Regions from separate parts of the Homo sapiens genome. Here all the other regions are linked to region 1. Evidence: promoter capture Hi-C in 16 types of primary human blood cells and fetal thymus (Javierre and others, 2016). All regions are on one chromosome and are shown on one strand. Each heading gives the region's core, a stretch centred on a gene start or on the middle of the fragment in contact. The rest is flanking DNA. Distances are from core to core; before and after follow the strand shown. Region 1 holds the start of CFAP36 (cilia and flagella associated protein 36). Region 2 overlaps PPP4R3B (protein phosphatase 4 regulatory subunit 3B). Region 3 overlaps CCDC88A (coiled-coil domain containing 88A).

What was found. Contacts are between HindIII fragments. The CHiCAGO score rates a contact against its expected background, and 5 or more counts as called.
Region 2: a contact is called between a fragment that was not itself captured here and the fragment with the promoter of CFAP36 in region 1, in 1 of 17 cell types (M1 macrophages). The highest score is 5.1, in M1 macrophages.
Region 3: a fragment that was not itself captured here is called in contact with the fragment with the promoter of CFAP36 in region 1 in 2 of 17 cell types (M1 macrophages and M2 macrophages); the score reaches 5.2 in M1 macrophages.

The regions. Positions count from the first base shown.
Region 1 is chr2:55,518,468-55,522,502 of GRCh38, forward strand. CFAP36 (cilia and flagella associated protein 36) reads left to right here and starts at 1,251. Exons shown (of 10, transcript NM_080667.7): 1 at 1,251-1,449; 2 at 3,635-3,699. The coding sequence starts at 1,335. RefSeq lists enhancers at 552-601, 1,782-2,031. The HindIII fragment of the contact is 7,670 bases long and covers 1-3,102 here.
Region 2 is chr2:55,589,704-55,593,708 of GRCh38, forward strand. All of the region lies in intron 4 of PPP4R3B (protein phosphatase 4 regulatory subunit 3B), which reads right to left. Among named protein-coding and RNA genes, the nearest start is that of PPP4R3B, 26 kb to the right of the region's middle. The HindIII fragment of the contact is 2,041 bases long and covers 930-2,970 here.
Region 3 is chr2:55,396,921-55,400,700 of GRCh38, forward strand. All of the region lies in intron 2 of CCDC88A (coiled-coil domain containing 88A), which reads right to left. Among named protein-coding and RNA genes, the nearest start is that of CCDC88A, 21 kb to the right of the region's middle. The HindIII fragment of the contact is 5,201 bases long and covers 1-3,780 here.

The DNA of each region.
Region 1 (4,035 bases), core at 1-2,500:
AAAAAAAAAAAAAAAGGCACATAATGATCATCTTCATGCATTCAGGTAAGATACTGTGTGCACATTCACAAAATAAAAATAGACTAAAGGATGGTTTATGGAATACTATGCAGTTGCAAAGAAAGCACAAATTTATATTTTTAAAAGATAAAGATATAAGAAAAAAATTCATAACTGTACATATAATCCTATTTATGTAAAAAATATATATATATATATGGTTGTCTGAAGATATTTTGGGACTCCAAACACCTTCACAATGACCACTGAAGACCCCATTCCACAATGGACTCCACCTAAATGCTGAGTTGGAGTTATAATAAGATTTGGTTACCAAGGCATTTATTTAAGTGAGTATTAACTTTGCTCTTGCCCTTGAAAAGCTCCTAATTCTAGTTATCTTTATCCAAGCGTAAGAGATTAAAGACCCGCCTGAAGATACAGATGCAAACTGACCGTAAGACAATCAGCGAGTCTCACACAGCTCGGCTTTGTATTTTCAGACAACCCTTTAATTACAAACGCCTCTGGGCCAATGGTCTGAAAATGGTTGGGACTGAGGTGCTGGGGATACAATGATGAACTGCAGCCGCTGAAGCCCTGTCAGGTGGAGACCCGGTTACCTCAGACCCTCACTGAGCCTTTTCTTTTTTCTTTTCTTTCTTCCTGTTTTTCTTTTGAGACGCAGTCTCCCAGGCTGCAGTGCAGTGGCTCACTGCAACCTCGGCTTCCCGGGTTCAAGCGATTCTCCTGCCTCAGCCTCCCGAGTACCTGGGATTACAGGCGGCGCCACCACGCCAGGCTAATTTTTGTATTTTTGGTAGAGACGAGGTTTCACCATGTTGGCCAAGCTGGTCTCGACCTCCTGACCTCAGGTGATCCGCAAGCCTCGGCCTCCCAAAGTGCTGGAATTACAGGCGTGAGCCACCGCGCCCGTCTACTGCGCGTTTTCTAAACCTTGGCTCCTACGCATTTATCAGAAGAGAGAGCGCAATCTGTCTATGACTTCCAGCCAATAGCTACACTTCTTTTCTCAGCCCTCGTCCACTGTTCTTTTTTAACCAATCAGAAACGTTTTTCAAACGTTTGCCCTCCCCGCTAAGTGCGCAGGCTCCTGGAAAGTTGTCTTCACTTCCGGGCCGCGGTCTAGGGCGGCTACGTGTGTTGCCATAGCGACCATTTTGCATTAACTGGTTGGTAGCTTCTATCCTGGGGGCTGAGCGACTGCGGGCCAGCTCTTCCCCTACTCCCTCTCGGCTCCTTGTGGCCCAAAGGCCTAACCGGGGTCCGGCGGTCTGGCCTAGGGATCTTCCCCGTTGCCCCTTTGGGGCGGGATGGCTGCGGAAGAAGAAGACGAGGTGGAGTGGGTAGTGGAGAGCATCGCGGGGTTCCTGCGAGGCCCAGACTGGTCCATCCCCATCTTGGACTTTGTGGAACAGAAATGTGAAGGTAAAAACCAGAGCCCGAACCGACAATCCTTTTCTCCTCTCTCACACCAGCGGCGGGCAGGGGGTTGGTAACCACAAGCCATCTCTCGTCTCCCCGACCCCCTGTCTCCACCCCTGTCGCAAGGTCTCGTTCCCCTCACCACCTTCTCCACCCGCGTCATCAGGTTTAGAGCTGGTTGTGTGGGAGGAATTCCTTTCACCCTGCCAATGTGTTCCTTCGCAGACCTGAAAACGGGGACCGAGACTCCCCTTCTCTGGGGCCGAAGCGCACGTCCGAAGAACATTAGACTTGAATCGTAAATTCGGTCTCTCACCCTGTCCCGAACGTTTCTGCCCTCGGCAGGTGGACTGTTTGGCTGGGCTTCTTCAACAGCTTTGCCAGACTTGAGAGGAGAAGCGTCGGTTTACCTGAGTTCCTTATGATCCCTAGCATTTCGCCCGGTGTAGTCAGCTTAGGAAATGAGAAATGATTTCACTCCAAACCAACAGTTAACTGCAAAGGAGGGCATGTGATAACTCCAGGAAGCCCAGAGCCGGTGATTTTGGTGGCCTGTGTTCCCCTTGGTGAGCTCTCTACTCTTCGCTATACCAAAAATTGGCGAGGTGGGGCAGGACCATTCTTGGAACAAATGAGGCGTATAGATATGGCATAATATTCCCCGTGAAGGACAGGCATCTCCGGGTTCTGAGCAGTTCTTCAGGCTTGGAGTTCTGCATTCAGTTCGTGGAGACTATTTGCAGCCCATTCGCAGAAAAGGAACCAGAAACCACGTCATATAAATGAGTGCCCAAGCGTTATTGTGGTTGTTTAATCGGGCAAGACTTTGAGGGTAGTAGTATTCATCAATTATTTGAACATCTGCTTTGTGTTGTAAGGTTGAGTAGAATAGAGCTAGGGTCAGTTGGTACAAGCTACAGGGAAACAAATTTCAGTGAAGGAAGTGTTTCATGATAGAATGTATCCAAGATGAGTTAGCCAGCCTCAGAAGGTAATGAGCTTCCCGGCTCCAGCAGTGTTTGAATGGATCTGATAGCGACTTAATAGGGTTAGAGGGATTCAGCTATTCAGCTATCAAATGGTCGGTTATCCTGGATGACCTTTTAAGACTTCTTTAAATTCCAAGATATCATGAATCTGGTAAAGATGAAATTCAGTTTGACCACTGAATCTTTTCATTACATTTTCATTGCTATAATCAATATTCAAATCGTAGTTATTAAAGTGTTATTTTTACAGGTAATTTTTTAACAATGTTCAAAAACAAAATAACTTGTATTTGTACTCCTTTTTTTTTTTTTTTTTTGGGAGACAGAGTGTCGCTCTGTTGCCCAGGCTGGAGTGCAGTGGCGTGATCTTGGCTCACTGCATTGTTTTATACATATGATCATTCAGTAAACACTTGTTTTGATTTTATTTAACTTCATTATTTATCTGTGGTAACAAAAATTGCCTGGTCACTTTCAGTAACATTTACATCAGCAAAATTCCAGTACAATAAAATAATATGGAACCTATTGTAAAAGGATTTAACCATTAACAATAATATTACATTAAAAGTTATGAAGAAATTATTGCCTCATATTGATTGAAATGTGTTTTTGTCTTAAATATGAGGTAGTATTCATTTTAAATATTTTCTCAAGTAGGCAAAAAAGCTTGTTTACAATTAATAGTATATATGTGTGTGTGTGTGTGTGTGTGTGTGTATATTTTTTTTTCTTTTTTTTTTTTGAGATGGAGTCTCACTCTGCCGCCCAGGCTGGAGTGCAGTGGTGCAATCTTGGCTCACTGCAACCTCCGCCTCCTGGGTTCAAGCAATTCTCTTGCCTCAGCCTCCCGAGTAGCTGGGTCTACAGGCGCGCACAACCACGCCTGGCTGATTTTTGTATTTTTAGTAGAGATGGGATTTCACCACATCAGCCAGGCTGGTCTCGAACTCCTGATCGTAGGTGATCCACCCACCTTGGCCTCCGAAAGTGCTGGGATTACAGGCATGAGCCACAGTGCTCGGCCAATAGTATATATTTTTAGATATATTCATTTATATATTTTTAAAAGATAAACCCTAAGAATTCAAAGCTGAAGAGCTAGGTTGACAGTTCTATTTGGAAGGAGTGGATTTTTAAATTTGCATTAATAAAATGATTTGGTTTTTACACTATGTAATATTTTCTTTTAAATTTAGTTTTTGATGATGAAGAAGAAAGCAAATTGACCTATACAGAGATTCATCAGGAATACAAAGAACTAGTGAGTATTTTTTTTCACTGATTTTTAAAAGTAATTAGGCTAATACTACTTATAGCTTTTCTAAATGAAGAAAAATATTTTTACATTAAAAATCCTTAATTTTACAAAAATCCAATCTACCTTAACAATAGTGCCAGTTATATCTGTCTCCACAGGTGCTCTGAATATCTCATTTGGATGACTTATCTCCTCTACTCTAAGGAATGGTTTTACAACTCTTTATGGGTTCTTGCATGTATTCTTTATATCTTATTCTTATTTTGTTGACGCATCCAGGGACATATTAATTATTCACTTCGTCATGGTTGTCATGTGATTTTTTTATTTTTTATTTTT
Region 2 (4,005 bases), core at 700-3,199, 72 kb after region 1:
ATGAGATCGAGACCACCCTGGCTAACATGGTAAAACCCTGTCTCTACTAAAAATACAAAAAAATTAGCCAGGCATGGTGGTGGGCGCCTGTAGTGGCAGCTACCTGGGAGGCTGAGGCAGGAGAATGGCGTGAACCCGGGAGGGGGAGCTTGCAGTGAGCCGAGATTGTGCCACTGTATTCCAGCCTGGACAAAAGAGCGAGACTCCATCTCAAAAAAAAAAAAAATTATATATATATAAAAAATATATATAATTATATATATATTTATATATATATTTAATATATTATATATATATAATATATATATAGTCAAGCACGCATTTTTAAAAAATAAATTTGTGGGCCAGGTGTGGTGGCTCATGCGTGTAATCCCAGCACTTTGGGAGGCTGAGGCGGGGGGATCACCTGAGGTCGGAAGTTCCAGACCAGCTTGACCAACATGGAGAAACCCCGTCTCCACTAAAAATACAAAACTAGCCAGGCATGGTGGCACATGCCTGTAATCCTAGCTACTAGGGAGGCTGAGGCAGGAGAATCGCTTGAACCTGGGAGGCGGAGGTTGCAGTGAGCCGAGATTGCGCCATTGCAGTCCAGCCTGGGCAACAAGAGTGAAACTCCGTCTCAACAACAACAAAATAATAATAATAAATAAATTTGTTTGTCTAAAGTCTAGGAGTACCGGTTAGACTGTTAACTGTGGTTACTGCTTGCTGATAGGTTATGAGTGATTTTCTTTTTTGGTTATCTATATTTTCTAATTGGTGATAGGTTATGAGTGATTTTCTTTTTGGTTATCTATATTTTCTAATTTTCTACAATAAGCACAGACTAAATTACAAAGGAAAAAATGGGCAAAAATATTAAAATTCACCTTAGAGATTTCATCAAAATCTGCTAAAAAAACTGATGGAAATTGTTGGTGGTTTTAAGCTTCAGTTATCTTCAAAATTCATTTTTATGAAATGTAATTTCCATTAATTTAAAGTAACATGTTCTAAAAAAGTTTGTAACAATAGTATCTGTAGAGTTGATAGTAAAATAAAACCCTAACATTTAAAGGATACACCCCAACTACCTGTCCTTTTTCTTACTGAGGATCATCCATTAAATGGTATCAATCCCTTAAATCCTTTTTGAAATAACGTGGAACATGTATTTTTAAAAAATGAATAGAAACCACTAGGTACAATCAGAGAGTATAACATGCTCTTCTACTAAAAATCAATTGGTGCTACTCAAAGACAAGACACTGGGAGATGAATCACTTAATTAGTCTGACTCAGAATGTGTCTGAGTCATTTAATTAGTCTGACTCAGGTGTTTCTTTTCGTATTTCATTGACTCCTTTTGGACCTTATGCACTGCAGCCTGAACATCCATCTTTTGAGGGAGTTTATATGCATATGTAATCTTTTATTTAGCCCTCAAGTTAGTTTTTCCTTTTTTTTTTTTTCTAGAGTCTCACTCTGTTGCCCAGGCTGGAGTGCAGTGGTACAAACGTGGCTCAGTGTAGCCTCGACCTCCTGGACTCAAGCAATCTTCCTCCCTCAGACTCCCATGTAACAGAGACTGCGGGCACGTGCCACCATACCTGGCTATTTTTTTTTTAATTTTTTGTACAGATGGGGGGGTTTCACTTTGTTGCCCAGGCTGGTATCGAACTCCTGGCCTCAAGCAATCCTCCCACCTCAGCCTCCCAAAGTGCTAGGACTACAGGCATGAGCCACCATGCCCAGCCTACTTTTTCCAAATACTTTTAGTCTTAATATTTTAGGTTAGGGTGAGTAAGTACATATTTACCTCCATTCACACCTTTTATAAATTTCTATTTTCCTGCATCTGTTGTAGATTACATCTTCATCCTTTACTACCTGAAAATTTAATTTTTTCAAAATATTTTCATAAGAAAAAAGTTCCAACTCCTTGATAAATGCAATTTCCCACTTGAATTCTTCTTATATGATTCGGTACTTGTGAGCTGATAAGTAGAACTGCATAAAATATTACAGATAGAGGCAATCTCAATTATTACAGTCCATTAAGAGAATATGTATTCCTAGTATTTTTTCCCTGATTTCCAGCATTACTCTGGCTATTATTCATTAAGCTATAAAAGCACTCTGTTCCAATATATTTATGAAGGAAGCAAATAATCAATAACTTAAAGCCTATCATATAGTTGAAATACTTACTCCAAAATCTCTGGTTCTCCAAGTAATCAAACTAATCTCTTTTAGTTTTTCTTTTCTATTTGGTTTTAACAGCTTTTGTTTTAATAAAACCTATATATTTAAGTCAAAACTTGTGTGGCTGCTTTTCTGGACAACATAAAAAAACACTGTGGGGAAAAAAAGAGGTTGCTTCTAAACAGTCTAAATCAAACTCTTCTCTTTGCAGTAATATAAATACAGGCCAAACAAAAGAAAAAACAGAACCCATTCATTTTTAGAAACATATAAACACAGAAATTTAGAATTAAATCAGATTTTGCAACATTACAGAGACTGTCAAGTCCAATTTTAAATTTCAAGAGACTGAGGTTCAAAAAGTGAACCTTTCTGAGGGTAGCTAGTGACAGATGGATTTAGAATCCAGGCCTCCCAAATAATTAATGAGGTTTTTGTCACTCCTACTAAGTAAACCACAAGACAGGTTTCCAAGTATTTCAAACTTCAAACGTATGAATCAAACCAAAGCAAAAGATACACAAAGCTGGAATGGGCCAAATCTAGTAAGATAAAATTTAATATATTAAATCCTGTACTTGAATCCAAAGAAAAATCCTAAAAACAAAATGAAAAGCCCTATTACTCTAAACAGTTTTTTAAAGAGTATCTGAAGATTTTACATACTTAATCTGTAACTGGGATGGGAAGTTAGAAATTTTTCTCTTTCCGTGCCAAAACCTTAGCATCTGCAAAATATGTTAAAAAGAGAACTAAACCGCTAATCCTGCTGGGCTAATTTTAAGCTTAACTCTTACCTATGGAATAGCAGAAATATGTATATAATATAATATATGTAAATGTGTTAAAATGTCAACATTTGAGATTCCTATCCTCCATCATTTCTAGTAAGGAGAGAAATTAAAACTTTGTTCTGAAAAGGATCTTATTCTATAACTGTTTGTGCAGAAATAATCTCATTTTACTTGCTTTCAAAAATTTAATTTCTGGCTGGGGGCAGTGGCTCATGCCTGTAATCCCAGCACTTTGGTAGGCTGAGGCGGGTGGATCACCTGAGGTTGGGAGTTCAAGACCAGCCTGGCCAACATGGTGAAACTGTCTATACTAAAAATACAAAAATTAGCCAGGCATGGTGGCTGCTGCCTGTAATCCCAGCTCCCAGGAGGCTGAGGCTTGAGAATCACTTTAACCTGGGAGGCAGAGGCTGCAGTGAGCCAAGATGGCGCCACTGCACTCCAGCCTGGGTGACAGAGCGAGACTCTGTCTCAAAATAAATAAATAAATAATTTCTAAAATATTTTAAAAGAATGTTGCTCAATTCTGGGCACAGGGGATTTTGATCTGCAATTAGCTAGAACATTTGGAGTCACTAAAGTCTTATGTCCCTATCATGCTTAAGATATTGTCAACATGTATTAGCACACATACTAGGAGCCACTGACTATGCTAAGTACTCTCATATAATTTCTCAGTTAATTAACCTAATTTAAGCTAGGATTTATGATAAGGACCTTCGTACTACCTCACTTCGGCCCAGTTACATAAAATTCTTACATATTCACTTGCCTTCTACAACTCACACAGCAGCAAGTTAATGCGCATTTAAGAAACCACAGGTAAGTGTACTAGATACCCAGATAGGTATCTAGAAACACCTACTACCTAACCAAAAATTTCTACATGGAAATCTCAGAGTGAGACTTTAGGAAATAAGTGCTTAGAGGCCACTGTAGGGCCAGGTGTGGTGGTTCACATCTGTAATCCCAACACTTTGGAAGGCTGGGCACTAGGATTGCTTGAGGCCAGGTAAGAACAGTT
Region 3 (3,780 bases), core at 598-3,097, 120 kb before region 1:
CGAGTGTACATCATATATCACTGTTTTACTGTATTGTTTGAGCATATTCCCAATTCTGTTTTCACATGAGTAATCAAACTAAAGATGATTAATTTCCTTCCCTCCTCCAGTTCACTGTGGTGATATTTTATTATAAACCTGGATATTTAAATCAAACAATAGGTACCTAAGAAAAAAAAATTTTTTTTGAGATGGAGTCTCGCTCTGTCACCCAGGCTGGAGCGCTGTGGCATGATCTCAGCTCAATGCAACCGCTCGCTGCCTCCTGGGTTCATGCAATTCTCCTGCCTCAGCCTCCCAAGTAGCTGGGATTACAGGCACCCACCACCACACCTGACTAATTTTTGTATTTTTAGGAGAGACGGGGTTTCACCATGTAGACCAGGCTGGTCTCGAACTCCTGGCCTCAAGTGATCCTCCCGCTTTGGCCTCCCAAAGTGCTGGGACAACAAGCGTAAGCCACCGTGTCCAACCTAAGAAAAATTTAATATTAGAACTAAAAATATATATAAATTTAAAAACTGTATTATTTGTAGTGCAAGCTCATTACTACATGACAATATACAATTTGGATTATACTAATTTGGATTATCCAAATGCATAATTTGGATAATCCAAATGCATAATTTGGATTATATTATACTTTGGATGCATAATATTCTAATGAACATATAGTAATATCATTATTTTAATACATTTTATAATGTAAATGCTATCTTTGTCCCTGACAGAGTTGTTGTCAAGTTTGTTTCCTTTAAAGTGATTTTTTTCAAAAAAAGTGTTAATGCTTCTTCTTAAATTTTGTGTCCAATATTCCTCACATGATATCTTGAAATGTATTCAGTTGTCAGGAAATTCTACAGTCGCTGCATACAGCTCTTTCAAGAATTAGCAAGTTTTCAGAATTTAGAATTTTGGTTTAATCAAAATCTTTTAAGAATTTTTTGTAAAAAAAATTAATGTTTTATATTAAGTTTTTTTAGACTTTGCAAAAGACTGCTTTTAACAATTAAAATAATTCTGGGTATAAAAGGAAGGAATTATATAGTTATATACTAATGATATCAGATGTAATTTTAGAAATCTGAAGAAAAATGAAAAATAAAATTTAAATATTTGAGAGAAAAGTACTTCAACACCTAAAATTAACCTCACAATCAAAAGGGATCTTAAAGATAGGTGAATGAAAATTTTTTATATCCCTTCACAAAACTGTGCTGCTTTGTGTCTACAAATCTATGAAATAAGTACGTGGGCTGTGAAGGGATTTCTATGCTCTGATTTGACTCTAGGAAAGCCAATAGAATAGCGGAGTTCTTGAACAGGCTAATACCTAAGCACCCCAAACCTCTATCTGTAACTTCTGTTCTACATTGTACCTACTCAAGAGTTATTTTAGTATGAAAACAGAACTGAAAAGTTCCTATTTCTTTATAATCATCAGATATTATATCATTATCTATTACTATAAACTATCTGTACTTAGAGCCCAGGATAACCATTAAGCACTCTCGGCATGGATCTAGAAAGCAATAAACTTCCCATTATAAGGCTTGAGTTTCCCATTTGATGCATGCCCAGTTTGAGTAAGGGCCATACTGACACATGTTAGGATCACGGAAAACAGGCCTTTTCACCCTAAGGATGTGATCTCTTTAGGTGAGAGGGACTGCCCTCAGGTGAAACTACCAGAAAAGTCCTAAGCTCCTGGGCTGGCAACGATGGCTTACGCCTGTAATCCCAGCACTTTGGAAGGCCAAAGCAAGAGGATTGTGTAAGCCCAGGAGTTCAAGACTACCCTGGGCAACACAGTGAAACCTCATCTCCACAAAAAAATTTAAAAATGAGGCAGGAAGATTGCTTGAGCCCAGGAGTTTGAGGCTGCAGTGGACTGTGATTATACCATCGCACTCCCACCTGGGTGACAGAGCAAGACCCTGCCTAACAAAAAAAAAAAGAAAGAAAGAAAAGTCCTAAGCTCCACCTCCATGAAAAATGGTTGACTCTTTAAGGGTAATTTATAGAAAATTATGCAAATCAAGAGAATTAGTAGCTTCGGAAAAATAATACCTGGCTTTGCAGTAAATATTATATAGTTATAATAATGTAAATACTGATGACTGATTTAACTAAACCTGTGTTAACTATATTAGAAAGATAGGGTAAGAAGAAATACAGGAGCATAAAAAAGATAAAATCTTATCTACCACTATCAGGAAGTCATAGACAATGTCTAAAAGGAATAAATCAAGAAATACCAGAATAGACACATTATCCCTATATATGGGCTAAATAACAGAAGAAATTGCTTTTAAAAAAGTTTAAAAAGCTGTCACTCTGGGCCAGGCACAGAGGCTCATGCCTGGGAGGTCAAGGCGGGTGGATCATGAGGTCAGGAGTTCAAGACCAGCCTGGCCAAGATGGTGAAACCCCGTCTCTACTAAAAATTAAAAAAAAAATTAGCTGGGCGTGGTGGTGGGTGCCTGTAATCCCAGTTATTCAGGAGGCTGAGGCAGAGAATTGCTTGAGCTGGGAGGCGGAGGTTGCAGTGAGCCGAGATTGCGCCACTGTACTCCAGCCTGGGCGACAGAATGAGACTCTGTCTCAAAAAAAAAAAAAAAAAAGTGGCACTCCAGAGAACTGAACTGAGATATGAGGAGAAATACAGCAGAGAATTTTTGTTTGTCACTGTGAACCTTTTGGTACTAATTAATTTTTTAAGCACGTAAAACATTTTTTAAGGACTTTTTATTGTTTCATGAAACCTATTTCATTTACCTGAGGGAAAAATATTAATAATTGTGTTGGATTGTTACTTAGCTGAAGCACATTTGATAAAGCTATCTCTGCATAGAATTCGATGTCAGGAATTCAGAGTCATAAGACATTTGTGAGACTAAGCATAAACCATAAGAAAAGAAAACAGTATTAAAAATTTCTTCTATAAAAAGAATGCATCCTATATAAAGACAGAAAAAACACTCATTCCTGTGTGTGTGTGTTTTTATCAGCTTCCTCAGGTTGAATCCTGTATTCTATTACTTTTAATATAATAAAAATCACAATACAGTAATTTAAACAAACAGTATGGTATGACTCCAGAATGCTCTAAAAAGAAATGTAGTCTATTAAGTATGACTCACAGAATTCTCTAAAGAGAAAATGTAGTCTATTAAATATTCCAAATATTCTGCCTTTCATTTTAATACTTAAAATGCAAAACAAAAATTAATTCAGAATAATCACAATTAATAAAGTTTTTATCAGGCTCTTTTTGAAAGCATACTATACCATTTTTTTCTAAAGAATGTATCTTTGGAAAGGCCGTTTTCTAAAATAAAAGATGAGCTACTGAACAATATACATGTGACATGTCAAACGTGAGCAAGTACCTTTCCAATCACACACAGCTATTTCCAAGGCAACACAATTTCAAGTCAACCATCTTCTTTATAAGATGAAAACTAAAAAAATGCTTTAGTGACAAATAGCCTAGCAATATGGCTCAAATCTGTCCAACCAGGAGTTAAATGCAACATGGCAGTAAAAGAGGGCCTCAAGCAATTTCACATTTATAAATGATCTACTTATGACAAGTTGCATTAATTTCAATTAAAATAATAAACGGACAGTAGTATTATCAACCACTGTATATAAAAATTTGTAAATCAGGAAAAAAGATGAAGTTAAAGTTAGCAATTTTGCAACGCTAATACTCTGAGATTTGGTCCTTGTATGATCAAGGATTATATCTTTACTTATTCATTAACTAATATATAT